Regions from separate parts of the Homo sapiens genome. Here all the other regions are linked to region 4. The links are contacts of gene promoters, found by promoter capture Hi-C in blood cells and fetal thymus (Javierre and others, 2016). All regions are on one chromosome and are shown on one strand. Each heading gives the region's core, a stretch centred on a gene start or on the middle of the fragment in contact. The rest is flanking DNA. Distances are from core to core; before and after follow the strand shown.

What was found. Contacts are between HindIII fragments. The CHiCAGO score rates a contact against its expected background, and 5 or more counts as called.
Region 1: a fragment that was not itself captured here is called in contact with the fragment with the promoter of TLCD1 in region 4 in 10 of 17 cell types (activated CD4 T cells, total CD8 T cells, naive CD4 T cells and 7 more); the score reaches 13.4 in activated CD4 T cells.
Region 2: a contact is called between a fragment that was not itself captured here and the fragment with the promoter of TLCD1 in region 4, in 17 of 17 cell types (activated CD4 T cells, endothelial precursors, naive CD4 T cells and 14 more). The highest score is 31.7, in activated CD4 T cells.
Region 3: a fragment that was not itself captured here is called in contact with the fragment with the promoter of TLCD1 in region 4 in 5 of 17 cell types (endothelial precursors, megakaryocytes, erythroblasts and 2 more); the score reaches 7.2 in endothelial precursors.

What each region holds. Positions count from the first base shown.
Region 1 is chr17:28,924,332-28,930,159 of GRCh38, reverse strand. It overlaps PHF12 (PHD finger protein 12), which reads left to right. Exons shown (of 15, transcript NM_001033561.2): 3 at 3,097-3,169. It overlaps LOC101927018 (a long non-coding RNA gene), which reads right to left and starts at 3,885. Exons shown (of 2, transcript NR_110803.1): 1 at 3,432-3,885. RefSeq lists enhancers at 3,884-4,063, 4,084-4,133. The HindIII fragment of the contact is 1,952 bases long and covers 510-2,461 here.
Region 2 is chr17:28,906,889-28,912,970 of GRCh38, reverse strand. PHF12 (PHD finger protein 12) reads left to right here. Exons shown (of 15, transcript NM_001033561.2): 9 at 1-489; 10 at 1,734-1,859; 11 at 2,602-2,745; 12 at 4,090-4,188; 13 at 5,299-5,381; 14 at 5,977-6,082. Among named protein-coding and RNA genes, the nearest start is that of DHRS13, 6.9 kb to the right of the region's middle. RefSeq lists a silencer at 3,946-4,240. The HindIII fragment of the contact is 5,109 bases long and covers 696-5,804 here.
Region 3 is chr17:28,867,819-28,873,600 of GRCh38, reverse strand. No RefSeq gene overlaps it. Among named protein-coding and RNA genes, the nearest start is that of MIR4732, 9.0 kb to the right of the region's middle. RefSeq lists an enhancer at 1,965-2,034. The HindIII fragment of the contact is 7,165 bases long and covers 1-5,782 here.
Region 4 is chr17:28,724,663-28,731,346 of GRCh38, reverse strand. It overlaps TLCD1 (TLC domain containing 1), which reads left to right and starts at 5,114. Exons shown (of 4, transcript NM_138463.4): 1 at 5,114-5,443; 2 at 5,784-5,866; 3 at 5,961-6,043; 4 at 6,454-6,684. The coding sequence starts at 5,250. NEK8 (NIMA related kinase 8) reads right to left here and starts at 2,559. Exons shown (of 15, transcript NM_178170.3): 1 at 2,487-2,559. The coding sequence starts at 2,533. RefSeq lists enhancers at 4,131-4,854, 4,855-5,578, 5,746-5,795, 5,916-6,215, 5,579-6,302 and 3 more and a silencer at 4,806-5,335. The HindIII fragment of the contact is 5,537 bases long and covers 2,838-6,684 here.

The DNA of each region.
Region 1 (5,828 bases), core at 236-2,735, 200 kb before region 4:
AGCAGAGACACAGATGAGAAACAGTATGGTCTGTGTAGGGAGCCGGCCAACTGATTGAGCTGGAGAAAGAAGAGGGTTCTGGCCACAGGGGTCTTATCTTCTCTACTTTAAATGTTTTAAATGTTTGATGTAGGATATCTTGGTACAAAGCCAGTGGGCAGATGAACAGAAATGATGAGAAACAGAATCAGAAGTGACACCCTTCAGGGTTAATTTTGATAGGACAGCTACTGAAGCATAGCAGAGTCTGTAGGCCTTTGAAAATTACTTGCATGCATTTCAGTAGTTTAGATGTGGCCTTTTGTAGAATTACATTGGCTAGAATGAGCGGAGACTTACAGGTGACATTCACCTGTGGTCCTCTAGGGCTTGGAGATCTGTCCCAGCAGGCCATTGTTTTTCCAGTTTCCTGATTCCTGGTAAGCATCCTCCTGAGATTTCACTAAGGAAACAGGGAGGAAGGGAAGTAATGAGCTGTGAAGCCTTGGTGGGCATCTGACATGTAAGCTTGGGGCTCTGGGGAAACAGGGAGCTAAGAAAATTTGCCAAGTCAAGTGCTATTTTATGTAGAAATGGTAAAACAGCATAGCTTTAAGCTCTGAGATACTCAAGTTTGGCTGGGCACAGTGGCTCACGCCTGTACACCCAGCACTTTGGGAGGCCGAGGTTGGTGGATCACCTGAGGTCAGGAGTTCAAGACCAGTCTGACCAACATGGAGAAACCCCATCTCTACTAAAAATACTAAAAAATTTGCCAGGCATGGTGGCGCATGCTTGTAATCCTAGCTACTCAGGAGGCTGAGGCGGGAGAATTGCTTGAACATGGGAGGCGGAGGTTGCAGTGAGCCAAGATCGCACCATTGCACTCCAGCCTGGGCAACAAGAGCAAAACTCCATCTCAAAAAAAAATACTCAATTTTTTTTTTTTTTTACCATTTCCCCCATTATTTGAAGAAAAATTTCCTGCATACCATTCCAAGTAGGTGACTTAGCCAAGAACTCAATGGTAGGAATTTCTTAAGCATAAATGTGGTTTTTGTTGTTGTTGTTGTTGTTTTGTTTTTGAGACAGAGTCTCACTCTGTCGCCCAGGCTGGAGTGCAGTGGCACTGTCTCGGCTCACTGCAACCTCCACTTCCCAGGTTCAAGCGATTCTCCTGCCTCGGCCTCCTGAGTAGCTGGGACTACAGGCGCGTGCCACTACACCCGGCTAATTTTTGTATTATTAGTAGAGACAGGGTTTCACCATGTTGGCCAGGCTGTTCTCAAACTCCTGACGTCGTGTTCTGCCTGCCTCGGCCTCCCAAAGTGCTGGGATTACAAGTGTAAGCCACCATGCCTGGCCTGTTTTTTGGTTTGGTTTGTTTGTTTGTTTGTTTGTTTTGAGATGGAGTTTTGTCACGCAGGCTGGAGTGCAATGACATAATCTTGGCTCACTGCAACTTCCGCCTCCCGAGTTCAAAGGATTCTCCTGCCTCAGCCTCCCAAGTAGCTGGGATTACAGGTGCCCACCACCACGCCCAGCTAATTTTTGTATTTGTAATAGAGATGGGGTTTCACCGTGTTAGCCAGGCTGGTCTTGAACTTCCAATCTCAGGTGATCTGCTGTGTGCACAACCTCTGTATTATAAAAATACAAGGAGGGAAGAGATCCAATCATTGTCCTAGTCCCTCTAATAAAATAAGTAAGAGAACTGCTGAAATGGGCAAAGCATGAGAAGTGCCAAAAGAGAACTAACCCATGCAGCAAGAGGTCCAAGATACAGGAGTAATATGAACTCATGGAAAAGCTGTTTGGTTATCTATTGTTGCATAACAAACTACGCCAAAACTCATTGGCCTGGTACAGAAACTCATTATTATCTCTCACAGTTCTGAGGGTTGCCTGGGCTCTGCTGGGTGGTTTTTCTGTTTCACATGATGTTGGCTGGGACTGCAGTCATTTGGAGGCTTCACTGAACTGGTAAGTCCAAGATGACTCACTCACATAGCAGTAGTTGCTGCTGCGTGTTGGCTTGGAGTTCAGCTGAAGCTGGTTTTTTGTTTTCTCAAGATGGAGTTTCACTCTGTTGCCCAGGCTAGAGTGCAGTGGTGTGATCTTGGTTCACTGCAACCTCCACCTCCCAAATTCAAGCAATTCTTCTGCCTCAGCCTCCCAAATAGCTGGGATTACAGGCATGTGCCACCATATTTGGCTAATTTTTATATTTTTAGTAGAGATGGGGTTTCGCCATGTTGGCCAGGCTGGTCTTGAACTCCTGATCTCGAGTGATCCACCAGCCTCGGCCTCCCAAAGTGCTGGGATTCCAGGTGTGAGCCACCACGCCCAGCCCAAAACTGTTGATTGGAATACCTTGTCTCCTCCATGTCCTCTCTCATAGCATGACAGCAGGGCTCTGAGATGGAACTTTCCAAGCATATTTCTTAAAAAATAGAATCTGCAGATCTCTTAAGGCCAAGCTTTGGAAGTTGCAACATTGTCACCTCTGCTGCATTCTGTGGTCAAAGCAAGTCATAAGACAAGCACAATTCAAGAGGAGGGAAAGGGACTACCTGTGGATGGGAGGCAGAGCAGATAATTTGCAGCTGTCTTTAATCCATCACAGCTGATTGAGGCAGGTATGAAAGGATGAATAGAGTTTTGACAGGCATAGCTTTCTAAAGGAAGAGTATTCTAGAGGAAGAAATAGGAAGTCTTCCATTTGAATAGTGGGAAGAGCACCTGAAGGGGTCTGGGAAGATGGAACGGTGGGACCATGTGACAGGGCTTTGAACAGCAGTTAGAAAAGCTTGGCTCTACACTAACAGGCTTTAAGAAAACAGTGTGGAGGACCTCTCAGTTATTTTATTATACCTTTCCCTACAAACCCAGTGTTAATAGCTCTGGATTTGGCTTCTCTCTCTAAGGTGTGGGAAGGGATGGTCACTCCTTAGGTTATTATGAGTGATGCTGACTTAGGCATTTTGGAGGAGACAACCCTAGCAGTCCTGCAGGACTGGCCACAATAGGAGTTTAGGAACATGCAAACCTAGCTAGGCTTTTCCTACTGCCTCAAAGGGCTAGTTATTTAGTCTTGCCCTTGTCTGTTCCCCACAGTAACCCTCCACTGAGTGAAGAAATGTTGCCTCCTGGAGAGTGGATGTGTCACCGGTGCACTGTTCGCCGAAAGGTAATAATGCTGCTTTCTGAAGACTGTCCAGAAAGCCTGATCCAGAGCACTGATATGCTAGAGCTAAGACGGCCTAGCCCTGAAGGCATTCTTGTCCCTTCTTCTTGTCTCTTCCAGCCCTGGAATCACCCCACTCTTCCCATGGTGACTGTTTGGAATCCAGTAGGGCCTAAAAATCCAAACATGGGCTGCTGAAATGGGCAGAAGAGGTGTGTTAACTTACTGAGCCATGTTTAGTCACTAGTGACAGGAGTAGTCTTACCTTCTTGTTGTCCTCCTAATAAGTGGCCTTATCCATGGCTGAAAAACAAAGGCTGCTTCTCCAGCTTGATGGAAAATGGAGTTTTCTCTCACCCCAGGGCAAATAAGTCACTGGTATCCAGAGACTTGGCATACTGACGGAGAGGATTTTGAACGCATTTGTACCCCAAGTTGCCTAATCTTTCTTTAGCTTCCCTTCCTTCAGCTTTGATAATTCAGTACTGGCTTCAAGAACATGGTTTATTATTTTCTACTTTGAGAACTCTTGTGGGTAACAAGAGCTAAATTCTCCCTTATTAAAAAAGGAAGTAGGTGTGCTTGCACCCAAATTATGATTGACCCAACCCTCAAATTACAGGCTATGGATTAGAATTTGTCTGTGCATTGTAATCCACCCCCCTGTGCTCCCCACACTAATTATACACCAAGCAACTTTCCTATGTTGTGACCTCACCTCTATTTGCCTGGTCCCCGAACATGATGTCACAATGAATGATGACTTCCTTGGTTGCAGAAACAGGATGAGATGATTAAGATTGTGGTTTATGTGTGTAACAGTTTCAGCCTTTAAGAAAGAAAGTAAACAAGCAGACATTATTTTTCAAATACGTGCATAAGGGTTCATATTTAAAAGCAAGCCAAAGCCAGGTCAACCACCTAACCACAGCTGTAGTTAAATTTCTCCATAAACCAGGCTGTCTTCCAGCCTCTCCACCTTCCAAGATCCTTTCCTGTGCATCCCTAATTAGGTTAGAGCAGGGCCTGTTAGAGGCACCTGCCAGCCAGGAGCCCTCTCAAACTTGCCACTCAAAAAAGCTGGACCTGAAAAGGTTTAGGGGAGCTGAAGGAAAAGGGGTAAAGACGGTGGAGAAAAGGAAATATTATGTTAGTGCCCATCGTGTGCCAGGTGTTTTAATTACGTTATCCCATTATCTATCCATCCAGCCATAGATGGATACCGAATGCTGGCCGTAGGTTTCCATTTTAGAAAGGAAGAAACGGAGGCTCAAAAATGTAGATTAACTTTCCCAAGGACTCAAAGGTATTGACAGAACCAATGTTTGAACCAAATTCTCTCATTCCAAACCTCTGTTACCTCTTCATCAGTTTTCTAGAAGGAGAGCTACTTGTTGGGGATTACAGTATGCCCTTTTCTAACATGGCACTTCTCCTGAGATGCCTCTCTTACCTTTCACATGGACCTCTGCCTACCAGTGCCAAGTCTGCCTTTTCCACCATCACCAGCACTACTCCCCTTTGGCCTCTTGTATTTACACTGAAGTGGATTGAAATAATACATCCTCTGGCCTTCATCAGCTCCTGACATTCAGGCCCTATCATGATTCGTAGTGGAAGACTAGGTCCTACTCCAACTCCAAATTATCCCTTTCGTATATATGACCCTTTTTATCTCCCTCCACCATATCCCTGAGAGGAGGAGGAGAAAGATTTTTCTGTCTCATTTTACAGATGAAGAAATTCCTGCCCACCAGCCTGAGTCACCACAAGGTCAGAGGGGATCCGTGGCAGAAATAGGACAAGATCACAGGTCTCCTACCTGGAGATCAGTGTTAAACCTTCATTTGACCACTCTATTTGGAGTCCTGGAGGAAAATGTACTATCAGATATCCAGTCCTACTGAGTACACTTAATCTTTTTCCATTTCCCCACTTTCTAAGAAGTGTCACTTATTTTGAGCAAAGTTTTTATTTTTAAAACCATTCAGGAGGTCAGAAGGCTCTATAGTGATCTCACTGATTTTTTTTTTTTTTTTTTTTGAGATGGAATCTTGCTCTGTCGCCCAAGCTGGAGTGCAATGGCGCAATCTCAGTTCACTGCAATCTTTGCCTCCCAGGTTCAAGCGATTCTCCTGCCTCAGCCTCCTGAGTAGCTGGGATTACAGGCACATGCCACCACACCCAGCTAATTTTTGTGTTTTTAGTAGAGATGGGGTTTCACCATGTTGGCCAGGCTGGTCTTGAACTCCTGACCTCAGGTGATCTGCCTGCCTCGGCCTCCCAAAGTGCTGGGATTACAGACGTGAGCCACCGTGCCTGCCCCATTGATTTTTACTATTGGTCTCACTAAATTTATTCTCACTGTGTTACCTTTTTAGCCCTTTACCCTATACTTTATAGATGTTGTATGTCATACAATGAGTTAATGTTAATGATATATATTTTGTATAGTTATTCCTAACTTACCATGCTTTTTGGTGATTCTCTGATGCAACAGTTTTGTCAGCTTTAGTTCAGTTAGAGTTGTGTCAACTTTAACAGACCAGTGTTCCAAGTGACCAGGTAGATGAGTCTGTGATATGTGAAGGCCTTTTACAGTTTTGATTAGTGGTCTACCAGGACTTTGTAGCACCCATCTCTTTGTTTCATGGTACTTTTC
Region 2 (6,082 bases), core at 2,001-4,500, 180 kb before region 4:
GTGGGACTGCCAATGGGCCAGTGAACACAGAGGTGAAAGCTAATGGCCCACACCTCTACAGCAGCCCTACTGATTCCACGGACCCCCGGCGACTTCCAGGCGCTAACACCCCACTACCAGGCCTCTCACACCGGCAAGGCTGGCCCCGGCCCCTCACGCCACCAGCGGCTGGGGGCCTTCAGAACCACACCGTCGGCATCATTGTGAAGACAGAGAATGCCACTGGCCCCAGCTCTTGCCCCCAGAGGAGTTTGGTTCCTGTCCCAAGCCTGCCCCCTTCCATTCCCAGCTCTTGTGCCAGCATCGAGAACACCAGCACTTTGCAAAGAAAGACTGTCCAATCACAGATAGGACCTCCGTTGACAGATTCAAGGCCACTGGGCTCACCCCCAAACGCCACCCGGGTGCTCACTCCCCCGCAAGCAGCAGGAGATGGTATCTTGGCCACAACAGCCAACCAACGATTCAGCTCACCAGCGCCATCGTCAGGTGAGTGCTGCTCAGCCTTGGGTTGATTTGGAATAATTTTATGCTCTTTCTGGCAAATAAGATTCTAAAAGCACTTATATCCCTGTGAATACTTCAGAGGACTTTGGCCTTTGTATTGTTTGTCTTACTCTCATTTCCGTAATAGAAGAGGAAGCACATGTTAACTTGTCCCGTTTATAAATGGGACTGCTTAGGCTCTGAAAGCTTCAGTGATTTCCTTAAAATGACCTACTGAGTCAGTGGCAGGATTGGAACCACAGCCCAGGTCTCCTGACTCCATCCCATACCTTCCAGGCCTAGGCCTCTGCCTGTTTTGTTCTGTCACCTTAAAAGAAGGCAGGGTGCTCTCTGGAATTACTATGATCAGCCTGAGGTTCTGCGTGATGGCCTCAGTATTGTCAGATCCACACAAAAGAATGGATTCATGCCTGATGCATATTCTCAGAAAGAGTTAATCTGATGAACTTCCATGTCAGGAAGCAGGGCTAGACAGCAGCACTGTCTTTCAGAGGAGCTGTAGAGTGGGATGCCCACAGGGATTGTTCTAGCCCAGAAGCGTGCCCTCAGGCCACATGCCAAAGGGCGGTCCTTCAGGTCTGTACTTGGCCTACTGTGGACCTGCTCTCTCAGCTGTCCCCAGAGAGCACTCAGGACCTTGAAGTTGCTGACCCCAGCATCTGAACCAGGTTTCAGATGCTGCCGGAACCCTCTGTGGTCTCTCCCGTCTGAACTGAAGCCGGCCTCCTAGTCAGCTGGGAGTCTCGGTAACCAGATGATTGTGATTTCTCTGCATGGGAGCCCCTGGTCCCAGGATGGCCCCGCTCCCAGGCTGTTTTCCTATCTCTGTTTATCGCTTAAAACCAGCGTGGGTAGATTCTCCACGCCGTGAGTCATATTTCAGTAGGCAAGAATTATAAGGGCAGGCACTACTTATTTTAAAGTAGAGGCAGCAGGGAGGTGGTCATGGCCCAAAGAATGAAGCTGCCCCACCACTTTCCCCAGAGCAGTGGATTTCAGTGGTTCTCAGTGCTCTGGAGACTCCTGCGTGCCTGGGTGCTTTGTCGTTCCATCTGCCCTTCCTCACCACACGTTTTTAGCTCTAGGAGTTCCAGAGCCTATGGGTTGAGAATCAAGAAGGGAACATCACCTTGGGTCCGAAATCCAGACCTGTCTCAGCAGTGGGGGATTGGACGGTGGGTTTCCCTCAGGCGACGTAAGTAACAGTCTTCCTGCTCCGTCCCCAGATGGCAAGGTCAGCCCCGGCACGTTATCCATAGGAAGCGCTTTAACCGTACCCTCTTTCCCAGCCAACTCTACTGCCATGGTGGACCTCACCAACTCACTTCGAGCATTTATGGATGTCAATGGAGGTGAGTGAATGAGCTGCTGCTGTTCCACCGTTTGCTATGTTGAAGGTGCTATTCCTATACAGCATTCAGCTCATTTCAGAAAGGGAGGGAAGGGACACCTGATCCCAGAGGCCTAGGGGGAGATGGGAATGAGGAGTATCCTTTTGGATGGGGGGGCGGGGTGAAAAAGAAAGCTCCTTCTGTAGCTCTGCCTTCTACATGTGCATATACACATAATCAAAGATGAAGGGAGGACAGAGCCAAGCTGAACCAGTGAGACGAGAACAAAATCACTTTAGGCAGATCACCTGGATTTGCAGAATAAAACTAAGATCCTCACTCCCAAAGGAGGGACCTCATCTGTGGGAAACCCCCAAAGTCCAGGAGAACAGGGACAGATCTTGATCTCTGTGAACACAAGGTGGGTAGAAAGTTCAAGTCTCAATATCAGACATCCAGGCCCTCCCCCACAGACAGGCAAGTGGTTTATTCCACTCTGCCTTTCTAGGGGCACTTTAATTAAAATCAGTCCACCCAACTACAGGAGGCAGCTGCACAGGCTGCATTGGGGCCCATCTCACTGCAAATGGCAAGTGAGATGCCCAGCTGCAGATCCTTGTACGCTCTGCACTCAATGCTGTTTGAGTAAAAATCACTTGGCTGGATTTTAGAAATGCCAAACTATTTGCTCTGTGACCCTGATTTGCTTCCACATTCCACTTCCCATCTCAGCTGCTTTTTAATCTTTCTCTTTGGCTAATAGAAATCGAGATAAATATGCTGGACGAGAAGCTGATCAAGTTTCTGGCCTTGCAGAGAATACATCAGCTTTTCCCCTCCCGGGTCCAACCTTCACCGGGCAGTGTCGGGACACATCAGCTGGCTTCTGGAGGGCACCACATAGAAGGTGCGCATGTACACACCTGTCACCACATCATCAGATCTCCCCTCTACGTGTGCGAATGGTCACCTTGCCTCCATGGAGAATCTGAGCTTCCAGTATCTCAAACCTCCTTGTGTGCTTTTCATGGGCTTAATAAAGCACCATGGTTTTTTTCTGAAGAGAGCAGGAACAAGATGGCAACCACAGCTTTCTGATCAGACTTGGGGAAGTCTGCTGTAACTTTCTTTCATATATAAGTCCACTTCGAGACACAGCAAAGCAGCTACCAGTACCTTTGGGTATATGTAGTGTACTTTCTGCTTACTTGCTTTCAAATATTTGAATTAGAAGGGCTTCCCGACTGAGTGCAGTGGCTCACACCTGTAATCCCAGCACTTTGGGAGGCTGAGGCGGGAGGATCACTTGAGCCCAGGAGTTGGAGACCAGCCTGGGCAACACAGTGAGACCCTATCTCTACAAATAATTTTAAACTTACCCAGGCATGGTGGCATACACCTGTAATCCCAGCTGCTTGGAAGGCTAAGATGGGAGGATCGCTTGAGTCTGGGAGGTCAAGGCTGCAGTGAGCTATGATTGTGCCACTGCACTCCAGCCTGGGTGACAGAGTGAGACCCTGTCTCCAAATAAATAAGTAAATAAATAAATAAAATTTTAAAAAGAATGGCTTCCCAAGAGGGAACTTTTCAAGTTCAAGTTGAGAAATAGAATAACACTAGGCCAACCTTCTGGAAATTTTCCCCAAGTGGTTAACTCTGTTTCAGATATGTCTGAGCATTGGCCATTAAGAGCCTTGCTGCTTCAAAGTGTGGTTCGCAGACCAGCAGCATCAGCAGCCCCTGAGAGCTTGTTAGAAATGCAGAGCTCAATGCATTGGTTTTTTGCCTATTTTTAAAGAAAACAGCAAAAGAAATGCAGAGCTAAGGCCCCTCCTCAGACCTATTGAATCAGAATCTGCATTTCAACAAGATCTGTAGGCGATTCTTATGCACATTAAAGTTTGAGAAACACTGGTCCATGCCGTCTGTTTTTCCATATTCTCCCTATAGTACCAGCTGGAATATCCCGGATTAGCCAGCCAGGAGCCCAGGAACTTACACAGTACTGTCATCTCTGACTTCTCTGACCATCTTCAAAGATGGTCCTCTGTACCCTGTGTTGGAAATGCTGTGGGTGGGGAGAGAAAGCCTTACCCTGCCGCAGCTCAGTGTTGGATGTGAGTTTGGAAAGATGAGTCATCCAGCGGGATTTTCTCCAGGCCATGAGCCAAAGGTCCAGATTTTGTTGGTTTATGTTTGGATCACAGGATCTGAGTTTCTGAATGATCCTATTCCTATGTTTGTCTTGTAGTGCAAAGAAAGGAGGTACAGGCCCGAGCTGTGTTCTACCCCCTCTTAGGGTTGGGAGGAGCTGTGAACATGTGCTATCGAACCCTCTACATCGGGACAGGTGAGCCAGCCAGGAAGCTGGGAGAGACACTGAATCTGTTCAGCCCTAAAGACTGACACCCTTACCCACAGAAGTTAGAAAGGGGTGAGGGAAGCCCTTTCCAGAGTTGACTGCTTTAAATCAGTGGATAGCTAGACAAGAGAAACTAAGAATAGAGACAATCAGCCAGTCACGGTGGCTCACGCCTATAATCCCAACACTTTGGGAGGACAAGGCAGGAGGAACACTTGAGCCCAGGACTTCGAGACCAGCCTGGGCAACATGGTGAAACCCTATCTCTACCAAAAACAAATATAAAAAATTAGCTGGGCTAACATGCCTATAGTCCCAGCTACTTGGGAGGCTGAGGTGGGAAGATCACCTGAGGCTGGGAGGTCCAGGCAGTGATCCTTTTTGTGCCTCTGCACTCCAGCCCAGGCAACAGAGTGAGACCCTGTCTCAAAAATAAAAGAGACAATCAGTTCCTTGTCTTCCCTTGTTCAGGCCCTTTTGCTTTGTCTTTGCCCAGTGTTGCAACAGCAGAGATGAAAGTCAGCTCTGACTACTGCCCAGGGAGGCACTTTAAACACTGCAGGGAAGAACCTAAGGAGAAGGCAGATGCTTTGTCCCTGGTGGTCTTTGAAAGAGTGATAGACTCACACATACCCAATCTTCAGTTAGCCCTGTATCTGTTTTTTGTTTTGTTTTGTTTTCCCTAAAAGTCCTAGAGACCGATAGCTCTGTATCTGGTACAGAAGGACAGACAGATTAGCCCTTACCCTAGAAACTTCCCTTTCTTTAAGGTGATAAGATTTTCTAGGCTCTGCACCCCGATGTTGTATTTTCATAGAAATATCCCATCCTCTTCAGTAGCTCACTCTTCCCTTCTGGGTAGCAGCCACATGTTCTAAAGCAGATCAGCTGGCAGGGACAGCTGTTCTTTATCAGGAGCTTGGAAAAGACAACAGTTTTTGTTCAAAAATAAAAGGGGAGGGCCCTGAGCTACTCACCCTTGAAGTCTCTGCTAGTGCCAACCCAGAAGCTAACTCTCTCCCTGTCTTACCTCCCCGACACATGCACCTTACAATCTGTTCTCTGCCTTCCTTTTCCTCTACTCCTGCCACCTTGCAGGAGCTGACATGGATGTGTGCCTTACAAACTATGGTCACTGTAACTACGTGTCCGGGAAACATGCCTGCATATTCTACGATGAGGTGAGGGCCGGAGATGCGGTGGGAGGGAGCTTTCCCAACCTGAGGCCTCTCCCAGGCAGTAGGTTTTTGTTCAGTGCCCTGAGGGGAGGGAAGAGGGATTGGGGGTCCTCTCTTTTTCTTCCCTCCCTGTCATTCCTGGAGGAGGAGAGTCTTGATGTGAAATAGCATCCTACCTGGGAAGCTACCTGCTTCCCAGGAGCAGGGCTACCATTTTTCCTGAGGTTAGTCACAGGCACAACAGAGGGAGCCTACCCTAAAGCAAGGGAGGGGACCAGCATAGAAGGAAGCCAAGCCTTGTGGGTGTGTCCCTGTGAATTTCATTATCATCACGGGCCAGTGAGTATCATACCAAGAGGAGCGGTGCTGAGAGGGCAGAGTGAAGGAGTGGGAGAGTAGGGAGTGTGGGACACCAGAAGGAAAGCTTCCCTGAGGAGGTGTCTCCAGCCCCCTTCTGAAAGGACAGGGGCCATGACTGGGGAGGCAAGTAAGGACTCTCTAGGTAGAGTAGCACGGCCTTCTCCATATGTCCTCTCTCCCCTTAGCCCCAGGCCCCACACAGCAGACCACACATCTTATCTCCCCTCCTCCTCCTCAGAATACCAAACATTATGAGCTGTTAAACTACAGTGAGCATGGGACAACGGTGGACAATGTGCTGTATTCATGTGACTTCTCGGAGAAGACCCCGCCAACCCCCCCAA
Region 3 (5,782 bases), core at 1,139-3,638, 140 kb before region 4:
AAGTGCTGGGATTACAGGCATGAGCCACCATGCCTGGCCCACTACTGGTCTTTTCACTGCTTCCTGTTGACCTTCAGGAAAAGGAGGCCTGAGTGGCTGCAATGAGACCCAACTAGGAGATGGTCCAGGTTGGCCTTAGTGTCAGGGACACTGACTTCAGCAAGAAGATGAGAGGGGCCTTGCTGAAAGAGATCTGAAGGGTGCTGGAGAGGAGGAAGGGGCAATGATGTGGGGGTAGGGAGTGAGGAGGGGATGCCTCAGCACCTGTACTAATGCCAGTGGACCCCTGGAATGGAGAAAGCCAGGCCTCTGTCCCCAGAGCCTGGAACCAGCCTCAGGAAGAGAGAGTGGAGAGTATAGAGCATTCTGCCTGAGCCTTCAGAGGCCTGCTAAGGCCCTGTTTACCATGAACTTCCATGAACCCAGGAAGGAAAGGGCTTAGTATATAGAATGGGCACCTGGAGTGTGCAGGTGATGCTGTTTCCTACCCTGTTGTGCTCATGACCCCACCAGCCTTAGGAATTCGATATAGAGGGTACCAGGCCTGCCCATCTTCCCTGCTGTGCCCAGTCCCTAGGCCTGAAGGCCCAGCACAGAGGGGGTTAAGGGCTCAGGAACGCTTGCCTCTGGGTGGGTGGGAACTGTCAGCAAGGAGCCTTGTCTGTCTTGATAATCCAGGCTGCCTATCTTTTCCACAGCAGCTGTGAAGCAAACAGGTTGTCCTGGCAGGGAGGGAGGAATGTAAAGGCCTGGCTGATGGCGGGAAGGATTTGAGGCAGTAGGGACACTCAGGCTCCACTCAACAGCCACCTTTAGAACTGTACCTGGCTGGGCGCAGTGGCTCACGCCTGTAATCCCAGCACTTTGGGAGGCCGAGGCAGGCGGATCACGAGGTCAGGAGATCAAGACCATCCTGGCTAACACGGTGAAACCCCATCTCTACTAAAAATACAAAAATTAGCCGGGCGTGGTGTCGGGCACCTGTAGTTCCAGCTACTCGGGAGGCTGAGGCAGGAGAATGGTGTGAACCTGGGAAGTGGAGCTTGCAGTGAGCCGAGATCACACCACTACACTCCAGCCTGGGGGACAAAGCCAGACTCCGTCTCAAAAAAAAAAAAAAAAGAAAGAAAAAAAAAAGAAAGAACTGTACCAGGAGACTGGAAAGGTCATGGCCCAAGTCTGGACTTGAGAGTCCCCACTGACCCAGAGAATAGGAACTGGAAGCTGATGAATAGAGTTAGGGAGGTGTTGAGAGGAAAATTTCCATTTCTGACTCAGTATGTGTCTCAACAGGGGTGCAAGGGGGACACTATCACGTGTACGTGCACGGGTATGAGTGAGCACGAGCGCCCACAGGTGTATGCCCCGTTGGAGAGAGTAAACAGGGAAAGCCCACTGCAAAGCCAGGAAGGAAGGAGCTTGGCATCTGTTGAGCTCCTGTTGTTCATGTGCCAGGCTCTAGGTTAGAACTATCCACCTTCACTGTCTCATTTCATCTTCACCAGCATGGAAAAGAAAGCATTTGAACCCCTTTTTTTTGAGACAGAATCTTGCTCTGTCGCCCAGGCTGGAGTGCAGTGGCACGATCTCGGCTCACTGCAACCTCCGCCTCCCCGGTTTCAAGCAATTCTCCTGCCTCAGCCTCCTCAGTAGCTGGGATTACAGGCCTGTGCCAACAAGCCCAGCTAATTTTTGTATTTTTAGTAGAGATGGAGTTTCACCATGTTGGTCAGGCTGGTCTCGAACTCCTGACCTCGTGATCTGCCCGCCTCAAGCTCCCAAAGTGCTGGGATTATAGGTGTGAACCACCGCGCTCGGCCTTTTTTTTTTTTTTTTTTGAAACAGAGTCTCACTCTGTCACCCAGCCTGGAGTGTAATGGCACTATCTCGGCTCACTGCAACTTCTGCCTCCTAGGTTCAAGAGATTCTCCTCCCTCAGCCTCTCGAGTAGCTGGGATTACAGGCGCCTACCACCACGCGTGGCTAATTTTTGTATTTTTAGTAGAGACAGGGTTTCGCCATGTCGTCCAGGCTGGTCTCAAACTCCTGACCTCAAGGGATCCGCCCACCACGGCCTTCAAACTGCTGGGATTACAGGCATGAGCCACTGAACCTGGCCTGAACCCCATTTTACTGTTGAGGAAGCCAAGACTCTAAGATCAGGTGCAGGGGCCAGAATCACTCAGCGGTAGTGTGGTGGAGCCCGGACTCTGACAAGTCAGTCAGAAGCTGTGCTTATTTCCTGCTAGCTCTCAGTACTCCTAGACAGGAAGCAAGAACCCTAATGTACAACCCCTGAACTGTGAAGGCGAAAGCTCTGGTTCAAGCCAAACATGGGCCTGTGATTTCAGGACAAGTGAGCTTCATGAGAAGGCTTGGCTCATAAACTGCAGGAGGTCAGAGAAAGGAGAGGGGATTGTTGCTGGATTGCAGCTGCCCAAGAGCAGTGTGTGGAAGAGGCTAAACAAGGGATTAGATGACTAGGCATGGTGGCTCATGCCTGTAATCCCAGAACTTTTAAGGGCTGAGGTGGGAGGTTTGCTTGAGGCCAGGAGTTTGAGATCAGGCTGGGTTGCACAGTGAGAACCCCCATCTCTATTTTTTTTTTTTGGTCACTGTTGTCAGCCTGGGTTGGAGTGCAGTGGCGTGATCTCGGCTCACTGCAACCTCCGCCTCCCAGGTTCCAGCAATTCTCCTGTCTCAGCCTCCCGAGTAGCTGAGATTACAGGCGCCTGCCACCATGCCCAGCTAATTTTTCTATTTTTGGTAGAGACACGGTTTCACCACGTTGGCCAAGCTGGTCTTGAACTCCTGACCTCAAGTGATTTGCCTGCTTCGGCCTCCCAAAGTGCTAGGATTATAGGCGTATGCCACTGTGCCTGGCCTCTATCTCTATTTAAAAAAAAAAATTTTTTTTTCTGAGATGGAGTTTTGCTCTCGTTGCCCAGGCTAGAGTGCAGTGGTCCAGCCTTGGCTCACTGCAACCTCCACCTTCTGGTTTGAAGAGATTCTCCTGCCTCAGCCTCCCAAGTAGCTGGGATTACAGGTGCCCACCACCATGCCCAGCTAATTTTTTTGTATTTTTAGTAGAGACGGGGTTTCACCGCATTGGTCAGGATAGTCTCGAACTGCTGACCTCGTGATCCACCCACCTTGGCCTCCCAAAGTACTGGGATTACAGGCCTGAGCCACTGCGCCTGGCCCTAAAAAAATTTTTTTAAGACAGGGTCTCACTCTGTCACCCAGGCTGAAGTGCAGTGGTGCGATCACGGCTCACTGCAGCTTCAACCTCCCAGGCTCAAGCGATCCTCCCACCTTAGCCTTCTGAGTAGCTGGAACTACAGGTACATGCCACCACACCAGGCTAATTTTTGTATTTTATGTAGAGATGGATTTTGTCATGTTGCCTAGGCTGGTCTCCAACTCCTGGCCTCAAGCAATCCACTCGCCTCAGCCTCCCAAAGAGCTGGGATTATAGGCATGAACCACCACACCAGGCTTCTACAAAAATTTTGTTTTAAAATTACCTGGAGCCGGGCGCGGTGGCTGACGCCCGTAATCCCAGCACTTTGGGAGGCCGAAGTGGGCAGATCATGAGGTCAAGAGATAGAGATCATCCTGCCCAACATGGTAAAACCCCATCTCTACTAAAAACACAAAAATTAGGGCCGGGAACAGTGGCTCACGCCTGTAATCCCAGCACTTTGGGAGGCCGAGGTGGGTGGATCACCTGAAGTCGAGAGCTCAAGACCAGCCTGACCAACATGGAGAAACCCCGACTGTACTAAAAATACAAAATTAGCTGGGCGTGGTGGCACGTGCGGATAATCCCAGCTACTCTGGAGGCTGAGGCAGGAGAATCACTTGGACATGGGAGGAGGAGGTTGTGGTGAGCCAAGATCGTGCCACTGCACTCCAGCCTGGGTGACAAGAGCGAAACTCCGTCTCAAAAAAAAATAATAAATACAAATACAAAAATTAGCTGGGTGTGGTGGCACACGCCTATAGTTACAGCTACTTGGGAGGCTGAGGCAGGAGAATAGCTTGAACCCAGGACACAGAGGTTGCAGTGAGCCCAAATCACGCCACTGCACTCCAGCCTGGCTACAGAGCGAGACTCGGTCTTAAAATATATATATATATTACCTGTACCTGGAGCCAGGCCAGGCGTGGTGGCTCATGCCTGTAATCCCAGCACTTTGGGAGGCCAAGGCGGGTGTATCACGAGGTCTGGAGTTCAAGACCAGCCTGGACAAGATGGTGAAACCCCATCTCTACTAAAAATACAAAAATTAGCCAGGCGTGGTGGCGGACACCTGTAATCCCAGCTGCTCAGGAGGCTGAGACAGAGAATTGCTTGAACCCGGAAGATGGAGGTTGCAGTGAGCCGAGATTGCACCACTGCACTCCAGCCTGTGGAACAGAGCAAGACACCCTCTCAAAAAAAAAAAAAAAAAAATACGTGGAGCCGGGTGCTCACGTACAGGCTCATGCCTGTAATCCCAGTACTTTGGGAGGCCAAGGTAGGCAGATCACTGGAGGTCAGAAATTTGAGACCAGCCTGGCCAACATGGTGAAACCCCGTTTCTACTAAAAATACAAAAAATAATTAGCCAGGAGTGGTGCATGCCTGTAATCCCAGCTACTCGGGAGCTGAGGCAGGAGAATCTCTTGAACCCAGAGGCAGAGGCTGCATTAAGCCAAGACTGTGCCACTGCATTTCAGCCTGGGCGACAGAGCGAGAAAACAAATTTTTTCCTGGGTGTGGTGGTATGGGCCTGCAGTCCCAGCTACTTGGGGGACTGAGGCAGGAGGATTCCTTGAGTCCAGGAATTCAAGGTTGCAACGTGCTGTGATTGTACCACTGCACTCCAGTCTCTGGAAAAAAAAAAAAAAAAGAGGTCCGATAGATGAGTGGAGTCTGCCTGCATAAGTAGAAACACAGAAGGAATCCTTGCATCATTCAGGGGCTTTCTTACACGATTTCACTGAATCTTGTTTGTTTGTTTGCTGTTGTTTTGAGATGGAGTTTCACTCTGTCGCCCTGGCTGGAGTACAGCGACGCAATCTCAGCTCAATGCAGCCTCCGCCTCCCAGGTTCAAGTGATTCTCCTGCCTCAGCCTCTTGAGTAGCTGGGATTACAGGTGCCTGCCAGCACACCCAGCGACCTTTTTTTGTATTTTTAGTAGAGGCAGGGTTTTGCCACGTTGAACAGGCTGGTCTCCAACTCCTAACTTCAAGTGATCCACCCACCTTGGCCTCCCAAAGTACTAAGATTACAAGTGTGAGCCACCGTGCCCAGCTAGATTTTACTGAATCTTCTGAAGGATCTTGTGAGGCAGGTATTATTCTCATCCCTATAATAGATAAGGAGGCTCAGAATCACATTACTGGTAACTGGCAGAACTTAGGTTTGATTCCATTGAAACTCAAAAAGGCCTCACAAAGACACAAAATCTACCCTATTCCTAGCGGGTTTGTGCATAGAGCCAGGGTGTGGGGTCTGGAGAACAGGGCTGTAGTTCTGCTCACTATAAGACTCGGGCCAAGCACTTCCTCCCTGAACCTTAGTTTCTCTATCGTGAAAATGGCATGCAGGTGTCTTTTGGAGATGGATGGACATCGGCAAAGCCCCCAGGAAAGCCATTCCTAGGACCCCACTCCCTGGAAGGGCTCCAGGGGCATCTGGGTACAGTGCTCAACATGCACACTTCCTCATGGGGCTGAACGGCATAAAGAGTATAAGGGAACATATGCTTGAGCATCTGTTCCATGTAAGGC
Region 4 (6,684 bases), core at 3,865-6,364:
GGGATGGTCTCGATCTCTTGACCTCGTGACCTGCCCGCCTCGGCCTCCCAAAGTGCTGGGATTACAGGCATGACCCCCACGCCCGGCCTTTTTGTTTTTATTTTTTTTTGAGACAGAGTTTCACTCTTGTTGCCTAGGCTGTAGTGCAATGGCACAGTCTCAGCTCACTGCAACCTCTGCCTTCCAGGTTCAAGCGATTCTCCTGACTCAGCCTCCCAAGTAGCCGTCACAACACCCAGCTAAATTTTGTATTTTTAGTAGAGATGGGGTTTCACTGTGTTGGCCAGGCTGGTCTCGAACTCTTGACCTCAGGTGATCCAACCACCTCGGCCTCCCAAAGTGCTAGAATTACAGGCCTGAGCCACCGTGCCCGGCCCCTTCTTTCTTTCCTTTCTTTCTTTTTTTCTTGTATTATTTCTTTTTTTAGATAGGTTCTCACTCTGTCAACCAAGTTGAAGTGCAGGGGTCTCATCTCAGCTTACTACAGCCTCCACCTCCCATGCTCAAGTGATCCTCCCACCTCAGCCTCCTGAGTAGTTGGGACTACAGGCACATGCCAATGCCACCATACCTGGCTAATTTTTTTATTTTTTTGTAGACAGGGGGACTCATTGTGTTGCCCAGGCTGGTCTCTAACTCCTAAGCTCAAGCAATTGCCCATCTCGGCCTCCCAAAGTGCTAGGATTATAGGCGTGAGCCACTGCACCCTGCCCCTTTTCAGAAAACTCTGCCAAGTCTCAGGATCACTCTTCCTCTTTAAAACCCTTCCTGGTGGCTGGGAGTGGTGGCTCACGCCTGTAATCCCAACACTTTGGGAGGCAGAAGCAGGTGGATCGCCTGAGGTCAGGAGTTCGAGACCAGGCTGGCCAACATGGTGAAACCCTGTCTCTACTAAAAATACAAAAAATTAGCCAGGCATGGTGGCACACGCCTGTAAGGCTGAGGCAGGAGAATTGCTTGAACCCGGGAGGCGGGGCTTGCAGTAAGCCAAGATGGTGCCATTGCACTCCAGCCTGGGCAACAGAGGAGACTCTGTCTCACAAAAAAAAAAAAAAAAAAAAAAAAAAAATTAGCCGGTTGTTGTGGCGTGTGCCTGTAGTCCCAGCTACTCAGGATGCTGAGGCAGGAGAATTGCGTGAACCCGGGAGGCGGAGATTGCAGTGAACTGAGATTGCCACTACACTCCAGCCTGAGCGACAGTGCAAGACTCCGTCTCAAAAACAAAAACAAAAACAAAACAAAACCGTTTGTGGCAAATGAACCTTTTATCTCAGGTTATCAGGCCATAATCTAGTCCCCGCCCTCGACAATTACATTTTATACCATTCTCTACCTTGCCCACTACATTCCAACTATTACTAGTCTTTCTCGGTTTCTTGAATGCTCTGTTTTCCCATGTGAGACATTTCACATACGCTATTTCCTTTGCCTGAAAAGTTCTCCCTTCACCTGCAGACTACTGGTCCTCATTCCTCAAGTCTTGGCCTTAAATCTCACTTCTGGCCTGTCGCGGTGGCTCACGCCTGTAATTCCAGCACTTAGGGAGGCCGGCGCGGGCGGATCACCTGAGGTCAGGAATTTGAGACCAGCCTGGCCAACATGGCGAAACCCCATCTGTACTAAAAACACAAAAAATATTAGCTGGGCATGGTGGCGCGTGCCTGTAGTCCCAGCTACTCGGGAGGCTGAGGCAGGAGAAGCGCTTGAACCAGGGAGGCAGAGGTTGCAGTGAGCTGAGATAGTGCCACTGCACTCGAGATCGCGCCACTGCGACAGAGTGAGACTGCCTCAAAAAAAAAAAAAAAAAAAAAAAATCCAAAAAATTTAGCCGGGCATGGTGGCGCACGCCTGTAATCCTAGCTACTCGGGAGGCTGAGGCACAACGATTGCTTGAACCCAGGAGGTGGTGGTTGCAGTGTGCCAAGATCGTGCCACTGAACTCCAGCCGGGGTGACAGAGGGAGACTCTGTCTTAAAAATCAATCAAGCAAGCAAGCAATCTCCCTTCTCAGAGAATTCTTCCTTGACCATCTCATATAAGTATTCTCACTGGTAATGTACTCTATCCTCACAACCTGCTAATAACACTTCATAACTGCTATAACTTCTTACTTCATAATGTTTTGTTTATTGTATAACTTTCCCACAGTCAGTAAGTTCCAAGAGGGAAAAGACCACGCCCGTTCCGGTTCTAACTATATACCCAGCGGCCAAAGCCTGACATACATAGCTGGCACTCAGTATTTGTTGAACGAATGAATAAAGAAGCTAACATAACTCAGTGGGCGGAGCAATGGGCCTGTCAGGGGCGTGGCCTCCGTAGAGGCGGAGTCTCCCCGGGGGACTGGGACCGGAAGCTTGGGCGGGGCTTCCCAGAGTGGCGCTCACGCCTTGGGGCGGGATTAGGCGGGCGGCGACTTCGCGGGCGGAATTGGGGCTTATTTTCCCTATCCCCTAGCAGTTTCCTCCCCCAGAGCCCTGGCTCACCCGAAGGCACCTCTCCCCACCACTCGGATCCGCTCGTACTTCTCCATCTCATTTCTTAGAGTTTCACTTCCGTCCCCCACGCGGCGCGTGCGCGGACCCACCCACTCTGGGCCCCGCCCCTTCACGGCGAGCGGCTTGCGGGGCGGAGCCAGCGCCCTAGGTGTGGGTTCCGCCACGCGTCCGTATTTGTGGGCCTGCACCACACACCTCCCGCTGCGACACGCCGTCACTTTTCCCCTCACGACCCTGCCCCACGCAGTGTCCAAGAATAGGGCAAGAAAATAGGGCGCGCCCGCAATGGCGGGCACGGTACCCGCCCCTCCCACACATATACCCAGCCCTTGTAAAGCTTGCTAGACTAAAAGGATGTCGCGTTCCCGAGAGTTAAACCCCACAGGCCGGGAAGGGGTGGGAAGAGAAGATTGACCCCCTTCTTGCCCACGAGTGACGCTATTTCAGGAGAAAGCGGGTTCTCCTTGGCACGCAAACGATAAACACACCCAAAACGACCGAGACCAGCGCTCCTGGGAGAAGGCAGCAGGGTTGGTTTCGTGTTTGCCTGGGGAGGGACGGGGGAAATCCCAAGTCGTGCAAGTTGATTCACCTGAAGAGGACATGACACGGTCTCGGGCCGTCCCGACTAGTGAGCGCCGCGCTCGTCAGCACTCTCAACTCCCCTTTCACACACGCGCTGCAGGAGGGTAATCTGCCCTCAGTGCTCATCTTCCCATGGGGGAAGATGGGGGCGGTAGTGGGTCAGTACCTGAAAGCATCAAGGGGAGAAGGAAAGACCGCGGTTTCGCCGAAATGAGCTCAAGGCAAAAGCCTAGAGGCAGGGGGCTGGTTAGTGTGACCAGCTAGGCTCTTTACCGGAAGTGAGGTTAATTCCAGGTTCTCCCGGGCTCCTGCTCTGCGGGAGCTCTAGAAAAACTCAGTATTCGGCCAGGCGCGGTGGCTCACGCCTGTAATTCCAGCACTTTGGGGAGGCCGAGGCGGGCGGATCACCTGAGGTCAGGAGTTTGAGACCAACCTGGCCAACATGGTAAAACCTCGTCTCTACTAAAAATACAAAAATTAGTTGGGCACGGTGGCGCGCGCTTGTAATCCCAGCTACTCGGGAGGCTGAGGCAGGAGAATCGCTTGAATCTGGGAGGCGGAGGTTGCAGTGAGCCGAGATCGTGCCATTGCACTCCAGCCTGGGCGATAGAGTGAGCCTCCATCTCAAAAAAAAAAAAAGAAAGAAAGAAAACATCAGTATTCAGGAGGAGGATGGTCACTAGCTGAAGGTTAGCGTCCCTGTATCAGAGTGGGCAAGGGGTGTGAGGAAAGGGGCGTTTTATCTTCTGCCCCTGTCCTGGCTCTCGCAAGGGTATCCAAACCCACCCACGTGGAATGACTGCTGGAAGGGCGCTGGCTCAGGCCGGTGTCGGCCGGCGGACAGAGCAGCTCTGTGAGCCAAGGGGAGGGGCGGGAAAGCCGCTCACCCAGGACACCCGTGTTCTCACCTAGAAACCGACTGGGCTTTGGTTGACTTAAGAGTCCCACAGGGGTTAATGTGTAACCTTGGAGCCATAGGGGAGGAAAACACTCAAACGGCTTGGTCCCTGGGTCCTTGCGCCTCAGGTTTTCTCGGCTTCTTCCTCCCGCCCGCAGCACCTTTCCCCTCCCCCGCTTCTTCCCGCCCCTCCTCTATTACTACCCTCTTCTCCCTCCCCGCTCTCATCTCCGCTTAACTTCCCTCGCTGGCTCTCAGCTGCTCCTCCTTTCGCCCAGAGTTTATACCTAAACTCTCCCCGAAAGCAGCTGCCTCGCTCGGAGGCGGGAGGGGGAGCCCGCGCCACAGTGAGGGCAGGCTGACACCTAGTGGCTAGGAGCCGCAACTGCTGCAAGCTACCGGCTTGGAGAGCGCGGGTCACTCCAGCTGTCCCGGCAAATCGGAGGTCTTGCTTGCCCAGCCTCCGGGGAGCCGGGCCGAGGGCCGGGACTGTCTGAGGGAGGACTGTGACAGCCGCCCGGCCCCAGGAGTTTAAGAGCCGGCGGGAAGAGGTGGCGATGGGTTACTCAGCAGTTCCCAAGTGCCCACCTCGCGGGCGCGGGAGGGACAGGTAAACACGGGACTCCGGCCAGAAGACTGCGAGTGGTGCGGTAGGGGCACTGGGTCTGCACGGAGACCACTGTCGGACGCGGGGCTCCGGAGCCCACCCCAGGACCAGGACTTAGGGGGCGTGGGCGTGTCGGGTCCCGTCCAGCTCTGCGCAGAAAGTAGAGGGCGGAGAGAGCTCTCGCGGTACCCGCCCAGGGCGGGGTAGCCGGTGGCCCGGGGAAAAGTGGGGACGCGGGTTAATGAGGCCAGGCGAGCGAGGGCAGCGGGGACTCCGTCGGCAGTCGGGAGGCGCCAGCGAGGGGTGTCTCGGCGACGACGCCCCCAGCACAGCTCCTAGTTACCCGAAGTCCGCGGGAGCCGGCCGGTGGCCGAGAGGCCACGGGGACACCCGGCTCGCGCGGCAGCAGCGCCTGAGGGGCGGGGGCAGGCGGACGGGGCGGGGGCAGGCGGGCGGGGCGGGGGCGCGGGCGGCTGGGGGCGGGGGCAGAGGCCTCGCAGGGAGGGCGAGGAGGAGCCAAGGGGCCTAGAGGGCTTCGCCAACTGTGTGGGGCTGGCGGCCGGCGGGAGAGGCGGCCGGCCTGGACTGGCCCGAGAGGGATCCCGGTTCCCAGAACAGACCTAGGAGGCGGCCTCGAGGGCGGACGGCAGGGAGGGCCAGCATGCCCCGACTGCTGCACCCCGCCCTGCCGCTGCTCCTGGGCGCCACGCTGACCTTCCGGGCGCTCCGGCGCGCGCTCTGTCGCCTGCCCCTACCCGTGCACGTGCGCGCCGACCCCCTGCGCACCTGGCGCTGGCACAACCTGCTCGTCTCCTTCGCTCACTCCATTGTGTCGGGGATCTGGGCACTGCTGTGGTGAGTGAGCGACTGTGGAAATGAGGTGGCCAGGGGATCCTGAGCGGGGAGCCGGGGCCGGCTCTTGTGTTACTACCCCCATCGCTCACTGGCGGGCTGAGGCCACGCAGTCTCACCTGATCCCGTTTGGTATCCTATCCAACCAAAAGCCGCAGTGGCCCCAGGGGAGGGGGATCGCCCCTGGGAAACTGGAGGCTCTTGGGTTTTGCCCAGCCACTCTTAGCTTCCCAGTCAGCCACTAGCGCGAGCCCAGGATCCCCCGGGGCTGCGAAGGGTAACCGAGAAGTTGATGGTCCTTGAGGGTGCCGAAATGCAGAGCCTCCTCTTCCCTCCTTTCCAGTGTATGGCAGACTCCTGACATGTTAGTGGAGATTGAGACGGCGTGGTCACTTTCTGGCTATTTGCTCGTTTGCTTCTCTGCGGGTAGGTCTTGCCCAGGAAGCGGGAGGCAAATTGGGGACAGGGAGAAGGAAGCTGCTTGTTCAGTTCATGATCTCTTGCCCCATCCCTCCACTAGGGTATTTCATCCACGATACGGTGGACATCGTGGCTAGCGGACAGACGCGAGCCTCTTGGGAATACCTTGTCCATCACGTCATGGTAAGAGAGAAGCAGACTATGTGGTATAGGCCTGGTGTCAGTAATCTAGTCTCAGCTCCGTCTTTCTGAATCTGGGAGAAGGCCGTGTTTTCTTACCACCCACCCCCGACCTGTGTGCTACTTCTTATGCTAGGATGCTGGAGGTTGGCAGTCTGTACTTGTTCACTGAGGCCAGCAACCCATGGTTTCACTGCCTCTTTAGACTGAACATCACCCACAGCCAGCTGTGAGCAGCAATCAAAATCTAGTAATGTTGAACTAACAAAACAAAGCATCTTACCCACTATAAACTATTATTCCAGGGGGAAATTTGGGATTTTCCAGCCCTCAATCTGATAGCCACACCCCCCAAACTTCCAGGAAAGCGTCTGCATCTGGGTTCCCTAACTCCTATTCTTTCTTCCCTCTAGGCCATGGGTGCCTTCTTCTCCGGCATCTTTTGGAGCAGCTTTGTCGGTGGGGGTGTCTTAACACTACTGGTGGAAGTCAGCAACATCTTCCTCACCATTCGCATGATGATGAAAATCAGTAATGCCCAGGATCATCTCCTCTACCGGGTTAACAAGTATGTGAACCTGGTCATGTACTTTCTCTTCCGCCTGGCCCCTCAGGCCTACCTCACCCATTTCTTCTTGCGTTAT